Regions from separate parts of the Homo sapiens genome. Here regions 2, 3 and 4 are each linked to region 1. Evidence: promoter capture Hi-C in 16 types of primary human blood cells and fetal thymus (Javierre and others, 2016). All regions are on one chromosome and are shown on one strand. The core of a region is centred on a gene start or on the middle of the fragment in contact, and the rest is flanking DNA. Distances in the headings are between cores, read along the strand shown.

Region 1 (3,460 bases), core at 341-2,840:
GGTCTCAAACAGCCAAACCACCACATGCTACCTATACAACCTCTGGCAAGTTAGGTAACCACTGCAAACCTGTTTCTCTATCAGTGAAATGGTAACTATTCCCTATCAATTGTTGGGAGGATTCTGAAATGATCTACATAAAGCATTGAGCACAGTGCTTAATTTTCATCTTTCTGTCATTTATTTTCATAACCAGCACATGGTAGGTCTCCCATTCCTTTTTCCTTTTAAATTCCTCACGTGCCCCCAGAGACTGAGAGGGATGGAAAAACTACTGTGCCAGAGGACAAGCAGCCAGCGTGGTCAGCTTTTCAGGCTTAAGGCTGAGGCTCCTGTCTGTCTCTCCCTTTTCAGCTCTCGTCCCTCCCTTTCTCCATCTTTTCCCCTTTATCTCAATCTTTCTGTCTCTCCACCACAACAGCAGTCTCCCAAACCCCAGAGCACACCAGCATCTCCAAGCACCCACACAGCTTCCTGCCCACACAAATCACAGACAACAAACCACATAGTTTCTCATTCTGGCACCTCCCCTGGCAACCTATGGACATGCCCCCACATTGTAGCCCGCCCTGCTCTCACAATGGGTCATATAAGGCCATTCTCAGTCACACTGTCACACTCACTGTCGGGATGACATACAGTGCTAAGTCACACCATCTCCCTCAGTCTCACATAATCACACACACTGTCATGCACAATCTCAAACACTGTCACATACAATCTTAGTCCAACAACAAAAACTCTGTTCACATACAGTTTCACATACAGTGACACAGTCTCACACACTGTCACACAAATTCTGTCGCAGTTTCATGTGGTCCCATATCAACAGCCACACACCGTACACAACCACACATAGCCTCACACACGGTGACATGGTCTCACATACTGTCACAGTCTCATCTAATCCTACACACACGGTCAAGCTCTGTTCACAAAGTCACACACACTGTCACACAGTCTTACATTATCCCACACACACAGGTCACACACACAGTGACATGGTCTTACACACTGTTCACACGTGGTCTACACATAATGACAGTTTAACACTGTCACACATTCCCAGTCTCACACATGGTGACGTGGTCTTAAGCACATACAGTGTCACACAGTCCCACACGGTCCCATATACTGTCAAAGGCTCCCGCATACACCGGGGCAACGGTCTCATACTGTCGCACACATTCTCACACCCAGTCTCATACTGTCACACATAGTCCCACATTTGTCCCACATGGTCTCACACTGACACACATATTCACACACGGCCTCACATTCTCACACTGTCACACACGGTCTCAAATTCTCACACAGTCACACATGGTCTCACACACGATTCCACACTGTCAAACACATTGTCACACACGGTTCCTTAATGTCTCACACATTCTCACACACTGTCACACACGGTCCCACACATGGTGGCATGGCCGCTCCCGGCGTCAGCTCCATCCCGCGCTCCTCACCGCCTCCTCCCTCCAGTGGGCACCTCCTTCGGCGCGGTCCTTGGAGGCCGGGGCTGGGCCAGGGCCCGGGCCAGGGCTCGATCCTGGCCGGCGGCCGCGCTCACAAAGGCGCCGCAGCCCTAGGGCAGGCCGCAGGGGCCGCTGGGAAATGGAGTCCGGGGCCGGCGCGGCGCAGAGGATGCTGGGATGTTGGCCGAGGGCCCCGGGCGGCCGCAGATCCCGCCGCTCAGTTGCGGGTAGTTACTGCTGCGCCCCTTTCCCTAGTAAGCCCACCTCCGCTGGCCTTCAGAATCCCACCCGGACCAGCTGAGCCCTCTCAGGCCGTTCGACTGTCCGCTCCCCCACCCGTTCCACCCGTTCCACCTGCGCAGGCGCAGCTGGTTCAGGTCCCCAAAGGCTGCCAGGCCGGGGTGCCAGCGCGGTGAGGCGCACGCGCAGTGACCGCGTCCGCGCTCCAGCGCTCCGGGTGGGGCTGTGAGTCCATCGCTGAGAAAAGGGAGCTGGAGGACCAGTGTGGAGCCTGAGCCAGCTGGAGAGGGGCCCGGTAGGATGTACGTGTGATTAAGCGCTCTGGCGGCCCGGGCTTTCTCTTTCCCTTTCTGTTTCTTCTCTCTCCGCCTTGCCCTGTCTTTCATTCGCCACTTATTGAGCGCCTGCTGTATCGGGCACTGTCGTGGGCCCTGGGCACACAGCAGTGAACAAGCAGACAAAATCCCCACCTCATGGAGCAGCATTCTAATGCGGGAGGAATTCAATAGGAAAAAATTAATAATAAAGGACACTGATGCATATTGGGAAGTAATGCGTATTATCAAGAAAAGCGAAGCAGAGTATTAAGATCATTCTTTCAGTTCTTCATTCTTTCAGTTATGCCCTCTGAATCAGTGGAAAAAACGCAAGGTGCATTTTTTTCTATTATCTCAACGACAACTAATCATAACAGAAGACTTTTCTGACCAAATATAGGGGAGTTTCCCACACATCTCAAGCAAGCAATGAGTTCAGTGAGTTCTGCAGCGGGCACCAGCTGGGTGTCCTCCAGTTTAATTCCGACGCCGTCTACTTGGAGATGGGTCAGACACCATTCGCTGAGGGCTCAGTCCCCAAGCCTGCCTCCCCCTTCCCACTTCCCACTAAAGTCTAGCCTCTGGAACATCTGACTCCACCACCTTCAAATTGGGATTTTCACCACCCCCTCTTTGCGGTTCGATATTTTGCTAGAGTGGCTCACGGAACTCAGGAAACACTTATGTTTACTAGTTTATTATAAAGGATATTACAAATGATATAGATGAAGAGATGCGTAGGGCAAAGTACAGAAAAAAGGGTGTTGCACCTTCCAGTAACCTCCACATGTTCAGCTGGGTGGAAGCTCTCTAAACCCTGTCTTTTGGGAGTTTTACAGAGGCTTCATTACATAGGCATGGTTGATTAAAATCCCGTCCCCTCCTTAGGGTTGGGGGTGGGGTTGAATGTCCCAACCTTCTAGTCATGTCTTGGTCTTTCCATAACCAGTCCCCATCCTGAAACTCTATAGGGGTTGCCAGCTGTCAACTCATTAGCATACAAAATGAGTTTTTACTGTTACTTTGTAGTTTCTAAGGATTTTAGAAGTTCTATGCTAGGAAGATCAAATATATATTTCACAATATCATACTCTTATTCCTATTCTTCAATCTGTCTTTGAAAATATTTTATAAACTCCTATCTCTAGTTTATCTCCCAATCCTGTACCATCCCTTCCAAAATCCTGTTGTGCCCTTCAATTGCTTCATTTAATTGTCTGACCAAAGTTGCCAGTGACAAAGAGCATCATATAAGCTGGGAATTTTATTTGAGGAAATTAAACAAACGCAACTATGATATCAGCAAAAAATACTAACTGAAACTTTTTTTTGAGACGGAGTCTTGCTCTGTCACCCAGGCTGGAGTGCAGTGGCGCAATCTCAGCTCACTGCAAGCTCCACCTCCCAGGTTCATGCCATTCTCCT
Region 2 (3,460 bases), core at 548-3,047, 4.4 Mb after region 1:
TACAGTCTTTCAAAAATGTAAAAAGCATTCTTGCAGGCTGGACCAAAGGTATAATAGGTTTTCTATCACATTCCATTATGTAAAATATAGCAGTTTTTTCTATTATTAATTACATTTGTATTACCTAAAGCTTGTATTATTAAGAATAATGCATGTGTGAAAATTTGTGTAAATGTCTTTTGGTTCATATGTGCTCTCATATGGGGGAGGCAGAGATGTATATCTAGATGTGCACCTCGGAGGAAAATTGCTGCTTCATAGAGTGTGTATAAACTCCGTCTAAATAGATGTCAAACTGTTTTCTAAAGTGGTTGTACCACTTACAGTTCCCCTAGCAGGATATAGTTTGCTTTATAGGGTGCTTTATGTGGCCTCTTTAAAATATCTGGCCATACCCTAATAACATTGAGAGATTCTCCTATATTAATGTTCTTTAAAGCTTTATTGATATGTTTCTACCATTGAAATTGACAGTTGATTCTAAAATGGTTTTTGTGTATGTTGTGAGGGGGGTTTTAACTTTCTGTCCCCATCCCCAGTACCATTTATTGATTTTTTTTTTTTTTTTTAATTTTTTTAGATAGAGTCTTGCTCTCGTCGCCCAGGCTGGAGTGTAGTGGCGTGCTTGGCTCAACTGCAACCTCTGCCTTCTGGGCTCAAGTGATTCTTGTGCCACGGCCTCCCGAGTAGCTGGAATTACCAGCAGGTGCCACCTTGCCTGGCTAATTTTTGTATTTTTAGTAGAGATGGGGTTTCACCATGATGGCCAGGCTGGTCTCCAACTCTGGCTCAAGTGGTCCACCTGCCTGAAGGGGGCCTGCCCCTCCACACCTGTGGGTATTTTTTGCAAGGTGGAAATGAGAGACTGAGAAAAGAAATCAGACACAGAGAGAAAGTACAGAGGAAGAAAAGTGGGCCCAGGGGACTGGTGTTCAGCATATGGGGGACCCACACCGGCACTGGTCTCTGAGTTTTGTTAGTATTTATTGATTACTATTTTTACCATCTTGGTGAGGGGGGTGTGGCAGGACTATAGGGTAATGGTGGGGAGAGGGTCAGTAGGAAAACATGTGAGTAAAGGACTCTGTGTTATAAATAAGTTTAAGGAAAGGTCCTGTGCCTTGATGTGTACGTAGGCCAGATTTATGTTTGACTTTACACAGACATCTTAGTGTAGTAAAGAGTAGTATTGCCGCCAGTATGTCTCACCTTTAGTTATAAGGTGGTTTTCTCCTATCTTAGTAAATAGAATGTATGATTGGGTTTTATACCGGGACATTCCATTCCCAGGGAGGAGCAGGAGACAGATGGCTTTCTCTTATTTTAACTGTAAAGAGGTCTTCCTCTTTCACTAATCCTCCTCAGCACAGACCCTTTACGAGTGTTGGGCTGGGAGATGGTCAGGTTTTTCCCTTCCCACGAGACCATATCTCAGGCTGTATCAGTGGGAGGAAACCTTGGACAATACCCAGGCTTTCTTGGGCAGAGGTCCCTGCGGCCTTCCGCAGTGCATTGTGTCCCTGGGTACTTGAGACTGGAGAATGGTGATGACTTTTACCAAGCATACTGCCTGCAAACACATTTTAACAAAGCACGTCCTGCACAGCCCTAAATCCATTAAACCTTGAGCCAACACAGCACACGTTTCTGAGCACAGGGTTGGGGCTAGGGTTACAGATTAACAGTATCTCAAGACAGAGGAACTTTTCTTTGTACAGATTAAAATGGAGTTTCTTATGTCTTCCTCTTTCTATATAGACACAGTAACAGTCTGATCTCTCTTTCCCCCACACCTTCCTCAGCTTCCCAAAGTGCTAGGATTACAGGCGTGAGCCACGGCGCCCTTAGTTCCATTTATTGAAAAGACAGCTTTTATCTACTTCCCTGTAGTGCTATCATTGCCATTGAGTCTCTATATGTGCTTAATTCTGCTTATAAGGATTTTATTCTGTTCCTTTGTCCTATTTGCCTGTTATTGTACTAATATTGTGCTGTCCTAATTAAAGTAGCTTTATAAGTCCTCATAACTGATATGGCAAGTCTTCTAACTTTTTTTTCAAACTTTAAAAAAAAGTTTATAGCTATTTAAACTTTTCAGTATCAGTTTGGGATTGTGACTGTGATTTCATTGAATCTGTAGATTTGGGAGACTTGACATTTTTAAAATGCTTTGTTTTCCAGCCCATCTTTATAGTACATCTTTGCATTTATTTAAAACTGTTAAAATTTATCTCAGTAAATCTAATTTTAAAAATATATTCGAGTTCTTCTAAATGATATCGTTTATGTCAGCCTAAAAGAGGAAACTGCACAAAATACAATTTTAAAGAGTTTACTTGAGCCAAAATGAGGACAGCTGCCTGGGAAAATACTTTCAGGTTGCCTTGGTTAAGTGCTCTGTTAGGATTTTGTTAGAAACAGGTTTTAAAGTCAAAAGGGAACAAACCGTGAGCTGACATAAAGTTGTTTGGCAAGAATTCTCATTGGTTTACAGAAATAATATCAATTAACAATTGGCTGTACATTGTTAACTATGGGGTTTTATGAGTTAGGATGTCCAGTGAATGGCATTTTATGGCTACTCAGTGTGAGTTAGTCTAGAGCCTACATAGCAAGTGGCTTTAAGAGATAATTATTTAGCTTGAGGGGGAAATGAGATGTGACTATTGTCACATTAAATTTTTTTTTTAGTTTTTAATTTTTTCTTTTTTCTTTTTTTCAGGGGAACCCCTATCAGAAAGACTGCTGTCACATTTTAATGCCTCTCTAGACCTGATAATTTAAAGGGAGTCACATTCCTCAGATAAAAGATTCATTTCTTTCTCATTTATAAATTTTATTTTGTTTGTTGATGGTCTGTTCTGTCAGTTACTAGGAAAGGTCTGTTAAAGTCTTTAGTCTGAATTTTCTATTTCTTGTTTTTGGTTCTATTTTTTGCTGTATACATTTCAAGACTGTTGTTAGGGGTATACATATGGTGTATTTCTATGAATGAAGAGCCAAATTTCACCTCTTTTCAGTGAGCATTGTTTCTCTTTCTCTCTGTTAATTCTTTAGGATTTCTGGTCAGTTTTGTCTGAGATATAGTTATAACAGATTATCTTTGGTTACTCTCTCTGTGGCATATTGTCTCCAACCTTTTATTCTCAAGCTTCCCATATCATTTTGGTTCAGACATATCAACTATAATAACCGCATGTGGGGAGGCTGAGGCGGGTGTGTGATGAGATCCGGAGTTGAAGGCCAGCCTGACCAAGATGCTGAAATCCGATCTCTACTAAAAATACAAAAATCAGCCAGGCGCGGTGGCGGGCCGTAACCCACATGGACCCATGGGACTGCACAAATGGGGGTGAACGTGGGAATAAAGACAGGAGACAAAAGAGTATATTTGGGAGAAGGGGTCAGGGAGCACCTTACCTCTAGTGGACAAGGGCCCTGAGCTTTACACAGCCCTCCG
Region 3 (3,460 bases), core at 396-2,895, 4.4 Mb after region 1:
AATCCTCCCGCTTTGGCCTCCCAAAGTGTTAGGATTACAGGCATGAGCCACCGCGCCCATCTTTTTTCTTATTTCTTTTCAGATCTCTTTATAGGCCGGGTGAAGGGTGAAGTGGCTCACACCTGTAATCCCAGCACTTTTGGAGGATGAAGTGGGAGGACTGCTTGAGGCCAGTTCAAGACCAGCTGGGCATCATAGTGAGACCCTTGTCTCTACAGAAAATTAAAAAATTAGCCAGGTGTGGTGGTGCCCACCTGTAGTCCCAGCTATTCAGGAGCCCAGGAGTTCCAAGTTACAGTGAGCTGTGATCTCCCCAGGCACTCCAGACTGGGCAACAGAGTGGACCTTGCCTCAAAAAGAGACAAAAAAAAAACAAAAAAAAAGAAAAACTCTCATATACCAAGGGTGAGAAGAGCAAATGGAACACGAACTTGACTCTGAAAAATAGTTTGACAATTTCTCTGTATATTTATATACTGATACCTATATCACACACATAGATTCACACAGGCATTTCCTTTCTCTCATTCTTCTAATATAGGAAGTTTGGTTGGATTTATATTTACAGTTCAGCATTGCCATGACTTTGCACATACTATTCGCGGTTGGCACACGTAGTATAACGTGATCTCCTTCTTAACCTTTCTTTCTTTTGTTTTTTTTTTGAGATGGAGTTTTGCTCCTGTTGCCCAGGCTGGAGTGCAATGACGCCATCTTGGCCCACAGCAACCTCCGCCTCCCGGGTTCAAGCGATTCTCCTGCCTCAGCCTCCCGAGTAGCTGGGATTACAGGCATGCGCCACCATGCCTGGCTAATTTTGTATTTTTAGTAGAGACAGGGTTTCTCCATGTTGGTCAGGCTGGTCTCGAACTCCCGCTCTCAGGTGATCCGCCCACCTCGGCCTCCCAAAGTGCTGGGATTACAGGCGTGAGCCACCGCGCCCGGCCTCTTTCCCAACCTTTTTTTTCTCACTGAAGTGGTCCTGTTCCCTTAATTTCTGGCCACTTCTCCTGAGTCCAGCCCTCATATTTGGCTCCACCTGGGTCCCAGGCTCTCCCCTCCGCCTTGGGAACTATACTTTCTGGCTTTTACTGGCTTTTCCCCATGCCTTTCACCCAACATAATTTTGGCACGTTCCAACCGTTTTCATTACCTAGTCTGTGACTGCTACCCCTGTTCCGTCAGCGTAGCTAACAGCCCTCTTCTGCGTTCAAAAGGCGCTTCAAGCTACTTTGTTAGAAATCTGGCTTTGGCCGAAGTGTCCCCTCTCGGCCGGTTCTCCTTTTCCCTCACAAGGAACTGTTTCCTAACCTTTGTACAAAGTGTAAACGTCGCGGCCATCTTAGCCTTCTATTCAGCTGCTGAAAGGGATTTACCTCCACGCCATTTTTGTCTTGTGTAAACTGGAGCCTCTGTATATGGACCCGTATTTATGAAGGGTTGAGGTGCCAGGAAATGGGACAGTTTCAGTGCTCTTTCATCTTCCCGGCCATCCCCGGTCACCCCCGGTCACCCCCGGTCACCAGCGCCAAAACGCGCCCTTTGCCTTGTGTACGTCAGATACTCAAAGATGGCGGCCCCCATGGAGCCAAGGCGACGAGGGCGCGGCCATCTTGCATCTGCGCAAACGCTGGGAACGCCTCCGACCCTGGATAGTCGCCGTCAGGCACTGAGGAGGCCGAGAGATGAGGCCGGAGCCCACCAAGTTCTGGGAAGTAAGTTCAGTCACTGGGTGGTCGCTGTGGTGACGGGGGAGGAAATTCTGTCCGTGGCTGGGCGTGTTCGTGGACAGTGGTGATGGACTGGTATCTGTCGGCGCCAGCGTTTGGCGACGCCAGTGGAATTCTTTCAGGAGCTTAGCGTGGGTCCGATTCCTATCGCAGGGGAACTACAAGAGGTCCGTGATAGGGTGTGTGTGTGTGTGATCGGGGTACCTCTGGGACCAGTCACAGGGTCCTCGTGTAGTTTGTGGTTAAAGATCTCTAGAGATCCGCTACTGAGTGCCCAAGTCACATTCTGGTGTCTTTGGTGTTGTCCTTTGGCGGGGCTCAGTGATTGCGAACTGGAGGGTTTGTTTTGTCAGCGAATCGGTTTATGGTTCAGGTTTTGTTTGGGACTAAATGATTGAGGAACTGTCTTGGGGGTTAAGGTACGGAGGTTTCTGATCCAGGTTTTGGAATTAATCCCGGTGGCGGTGGTGGTAGCGCCACAGATTCCGATGTGGGCTGCAGCTCTGGAGGCCTGGGAACCATGGCAGGTGATGGGTTAGCCCCAGCCCTGGCTGCTGGAACAGAATTGATGCTCATTAGCATTCCCCTTCTGCCCAAGACCCTTCTCCACGACTGGTTTTTAAATCCCCTTTGGCACCTTCCATCACCCCTTGGTCTTGAATCCTCAGAAATGGAAGTTTTTGGCGAGATCAGTCATCTAGCATACCTAAAAGTAGTATGTTTTATATTTAAGATGCGGCTTCTACCCTTTGTCCTGCAAGTTTCCAGCGTATCCTCTTGGATATTTCTTTTCAGGTTCTTTCTGACACAAGTAAGATAACATCTCTGCCATGGTAAGCTCGGTTACTCAAAGATAACCTTTGTCAAATTTTCAGAATATTTCAATTTTAGACGTGTATGTTATGTGCTTAATATTCATAATTCAGATAAATTATGTAAATGGTACTATTATCTTTTTCGCTTTATATTATGTAATAAACATTTAGAAGTTGTTTTTACTGTTTGAGCCGGTGGTACTATAAGTGCATTCACATTAAGTTTATGCGTACATTTGGATAGAAGTGAAATGTTTTAAAATGTTTAGGTATTATTTTTAGGAACATTTTATGATTATCCATTTATCCATGAATTTTGTTTTTCCTGCCTTTAATCTTCAATCTAGACTATTACTTTTATTGCAGTGTATTGCTTTCTGACTCCCCTTTCCTTATAATCTATAACAAAAGATAAATTAATTTTAAATATTTATTTTATATTTGGTCATCTTAATTCTTAGTATTACAATATTTTTCTCTCTGCCTAACATATTATTTTGTGAAAATTTTTGAACCTATGGAAATATTGAAAGAAGTTTAATGTTAATACCAATATGCCTACCACCTAGCTTTTACCATTAACATTGTATTAGATCAGCTCTACTGGTTTTCTAAGTATTCATCCATTCCTCTGTTTGTGAATCATTCCTTATTTGTTGTCGATTTTGGTATATTTCAAAGTAAGTTACAGACATAAGTACCATTCCTCTAAATAATTCTGTATATGATTAACTAGAATTCTACTAATAGCCCTTTAATTGCTTTATTTATTTACTTAATAGGGAGGCATCTGATTTACAGATAATTTTGGTTCGGTATAAAGTAGAGTAAAAGTGGATTTTGAAGTGAAACAAAAGTGGATTTTCAGCCCTGATTCTGCTTCTTGCTCATTGTGTGATTGGCATAACTTGTGTC
Region 4 (3,460 bases), core at 662-3,161, 3.3 Mb after region 1:
AGGCTAGAAGTTCAAGACTTGCCTGGGCAACATAGTGAGAATCCGCCTTTGCAAAAAGTAAAAAAATTAGTGGAGTGTGGCGGTGCAAACCCGTAGTCCCAGCCACTTGGGAGACTGAGGTAGGAGGATCACTTGATTCCAGAGTTGAAGGCTGCAGTGAGCTATGGTCTTGACACTGCACTCTAGCCTGGGCAACAGAGCAAGATGCTCTCTCAAAAAATAAATAGACCGGGCACGGTGGCTCACGCCTGTGATCCCAGCACTTTGGGAGGCCAAGGTGTGGGGGATCCCTCGAGCTCAGGAGTTCGAGTCTAGCCTGAGCAACATGGCGAAACCCCGTCTCTACAAAAAGTACAAAAATTAACTAGGCATGGTGACGTGTGCTTGTAGTCCCAGCTACTGGGGAGATTGAGGTGGGAGGATTGCCTGAGCCTGGTAGATGAAAAGTTGCAGTGAGCAGAGATGACGCCACTGCACTCCAGCCTGGGTGACAGAGCAAGACTCTCTCCAAGAAATATGTAACATTTTTAACATAACATAACATAACATAACAAACTTTCCCTGAATAACTGTAGTCATGCCAAGTGCTCATCCACAGCCTCATAACTTGTGCTTGTGCTTTCTAGCCTTGTTTACTCCTCCATATATGAAAAAAAGAAAAAAAAGCTTTTTAGTTTGTGTCTCTTGGACATTTTCAGATCTTGTGATTGGAACATTCTCTCTATTGCAATAGTCCTTTTGAATAAAATCTTCCTTCTCTAAGTCTGAATTTGTCATTTACAGTGGTAAATATCTTAATTGTTCTGAGATAAATTATGTATATTATCTTTTTGTGGCAAAGGACTTAATATATATTCAGTAGGTGAAAGTAGTTCCTGGGGCCAGGTATGGTGGCTCACGCCTGTAATCCCAGCACTTTGGGAGGCTGAGGCGGGTGGATCACTTGAGGTCAGGAATTCGAGACCAGCCTAGGCAACATGGTGAAACTTCATCTCCGCTAAAGAACGTGGTGGCGGGCGCCTGTAATCCTAGCTACTCGGGAGGCTGAGGCAGGAGCATTGCTTGAACCCGGGAGGCCGAGGTTGCAGTGAGCAGAGATCATGCCACTGCACCCCAGCCTGGACGACAGAGCGTGACTCCGGCTCAAAAAAAAAAAAAAAAAGTATAGGCGTTTGAGGTTGTCATCTCGCACGGAATAGAATAGTAAGTATAAAAAAGGACAATGCAATTTATATCTATTTTTTAAAAGTTACTGCTAATTTCAGGGCTTTTAAATTACTTAATTTTAATCGCAGAAACTTTTCCAGCATGCCATCACCGCTCCGTGTCAACCCATGTTCCCAGACTCCTGGGCTGCTTCAGCGTCAATAACATTACTGGGTAAACGCGCTAGCAAAAAATGCTTTCAACATAAACCGCCTCCATTCTAAGAGGAAAGCAGTTTGGTTTCCAAAATAACCTACACAACTGTGCTTTTAACTTGAAACCGTTTGAAACATCTACGCCGTTCCACAAGACACTACAGATGGCTCTGGGCGCTGGGCTGTGGGCATCACACGAAATCGCAGACCCTAACGTGTCCCGTCCAGCCCCGCCTCTCCCCCGGGTCCCTTCCTGGCGGTCCCTCTGCCTCCCTCCCCCGCGGTCCCTTCGCCTTCCTCCCCCGCGGTCCCTTCCCGCGGTTCCTCCCCGCCCTTCCCCGGCGGCTCCTCCCCGGCCCGCCCCCGGGTCCCTCCACTTGGTCACTCCCCACCCCTCCCCGGTGGCTCCTCCCCGTTCCTTCCCTGGGGTCCCTGCCTGGCGGCCCCTGCTTCAGCCCGGCTCTCTCAACGCCCCGCCCTTTTCCGGTTCCGCCCATCTCGGACCCCGCCCCGGGCCGCTCGGTCGCTTTCCTTCGCGCAGTTGCCCACAGACCCGGAAGTGGATCGTGCGGAGCAAGCATCACACCATGGCGTATGAGTGTTCCTCTGTGTAGACTCAACCTGCGCCTCGCCGTCCCCCATTCGCACACCCGATGCCCGGGGGTCGCTACGGACTTAAAATCTCCGCACCGCACCCTCCACCTCAGGTAAATAGGCCTTGCTGTGTGGGCCCGGAGACGCTTCCTTTTGGGTTAAAGTCGCCCTGAGGCTGGTCCCTGCCCCCGGTCTTTCTGCCTTGGGCCAAGTAAACACGGCCTTTCCCGGTTTTTTAAACGTTTAAGCAGGATTTTCCTGCTTAAAATCCTTTACTGACTCCTCCTCCCGCCCCGCATCGCTTAAAGTCCTCACCGCCTGCCCTGGGCGCCTCCCAGCCTCGCTCTCGTCGGCCCCTGGAGCGCAGCGCCGCCGACCCAGTCCCGGGGAGGCCGCGCCTCCGCCTGGTCCTGGGATCCTGCACATCCCACCCCTGTCCTAAGGCGCCGTCGCCCCCCACCTCCCTCCTCCTCGTGCCGGGCCCTGCTGCTCCCCAGGCCTCCCCTTCGCAGTCACCGCTTCCCTTGAGCCCTCGTTGGGGAGGTGCCCGGGGCCCGTCCTGTGACACCCGGTGTTTTTGCCTGCCCAGCTCCACCCCCTGGAAAATGTACTCCTCCAACATGCAGACATCTTACTACAAACCCTCCAGTGAATGTGTGGCCCAAGGGAATCAGGAGAAAGAGAGACAAAGAGCCACTGAGAGGAGATGGAAAAACCAAGAAAGAGAAAAGAAAAATGAGGGAGACCCATAAACAGATGGCAAAGTGGAGGATGGGTGAGAGATTTGCAGCGACAGAGTGAAAGAAGCAGTCAAGAAAGTAGCAGGGGCAGAAAAGCAATTGGCGAAATGTAGAGAAAAGCTCGATGTCCCGAGATGCAGGACAACAAGATAAGGAGAGGGACAGCAAAGAAGGAGCCTCCTCAGACAGAGAGTGGGGGAGAGGAGAAAGGATTTGGCCGAGGGCAGACAGAGCTGCGTGGTGCTGGGACAGCTGGAGGGGACAGCTGGTGACAAGGCGAGCAGAGGGAGCACCACAACACAGGGAGGCCTGGGATCTGGGAGTGCCAGAGAGTGGGGATAAGCGGGTGTAACAGGGAAGAGGGGATTTAACAGGGAGAGCAGAGGAGGCGCGGAGATGGGGTAAGAAAGAGGCAGAAATAGATGGAGATTGGGACGATGAAAAGATTGGAAAGAAAACGCCACAAGAGGTGAAACAAATTGGAAGAATGGAGTAGAACAGATATAAGGGGAAAAAACAAAGAAGGGAGAAACAGCAGAAGAAAAAAGAGGCACAACATCGTCAGAATCCTAGGGGGAAGATAAAAGGGGAAAAAGGCTGGAGAGACAAGGTGAAAGTGAGAGGCACAAAATGGGGGAGAGGAACACATAGTTATAAAGAAAGAGGGGCGCCCTGGGGCCAGGTGAGAGGTGAGTTGAGATTGGATATGACAATTTGATTTCTCTATTTATAATGTGTTACATTTAAATTGTAATCTAATTGTTT

The links. The method cuts DNA at HindIII sites, captures the fragments that hold promoters and counts their contacts. A CHiCAGO score of 5 or more calls a contact.
Region 2: a contact is called between a fragment that was not itself captured here and the fragment with the promoter of ZNF583 in region 1, in 2 of 17 cell types (neutrophils and activated CD4 T cells). The highest score is 8.2, in neutrophils.
Region 3: the fragment with the promoter of ZNF615 here is called in contact with the fragment with the promoter of ZNF583 in region 1 in 1 of 17 cell types (non-activated CD4 T cells); the score reaches 6.8 in non-activated CD4 T cells.
Region 4: the fragment with the promoter of ZNF160 here is called in contact with the fragment with the promoter of ZNF583 in region 1 in 1 of 17 cell types (naive CD8 T cells); the score reaches 5.8 in naive CD8 T cells.

The regions. Positions count from the first base shown.
Region 1 is chr19:56,402,462-56,405,921 of GRCh38, reverse strand. ZNF583 (zinc finger protein 583) reads right to left here and starts at 1,590. Exons shown (of 5, transcript NM_152478.3): 1 at 1,470-1,590. RefSeq lists a silencer at 1,357-1,566 and an enhancer at 2,027-2,166. The HindIII fragment of the contact is 8,045 bases long and covers 1-3,460 here.
Region 2 is chr19:51,981,294-51,984,753 of GRCh38, reverse strand. All of the region lies in intron 1 of ZNF350 (zinc finger protein 350), which reads left to right. ZNF350-AS1 (ZNF350 antisense RNA 1) reads right to left here. Exons shown (of 3, transcript NR_103847.1): 3 at 3,387-3,460. Among named protein-coding and RNA genes, the nearest start is that of ZNF350, 3.8 kb to the left of the region's middle. The HindIII fragment of the contact is 2,712 bases long and covers 442-3,153 here.
Region 3 is chr19:52,006,396-52,009,855 of GRCh38, reverse strand. ZNF615 (zinc finger protein 615) reads left to right here and starts at 1,645. Exons shown (of 7, transcript NM_001199324.2): 1 at 1,645-1,715; 2 at 2,526-2,563. LOC124904755 (a long non-coding RNA gene) reads right to left here and starts at 1,558. Exons shown (of 2, transcript XR_007067321.1): 1 at 1,377-1,558. RefSeq lists enhancers at 1,135-1,214, 1,275-1,884. The HindIII fragment of the contact is 6,775 bases long and covers 1-3,460 here.
Region 4 is chr19:53,101,873-53,105,332 of GRCh38, reverse strand. ZNF160 (zinc finger protein 160) reads left to right here and starts at 1,911. Exons shown (of 6, transcript NM_001322131.2): 1 at 1,911-2,068. RefSeq lists a silencer at 1,459-1,868. The HindIII fragment of the contact is 3,069 bases long and covers 669-3,460 here.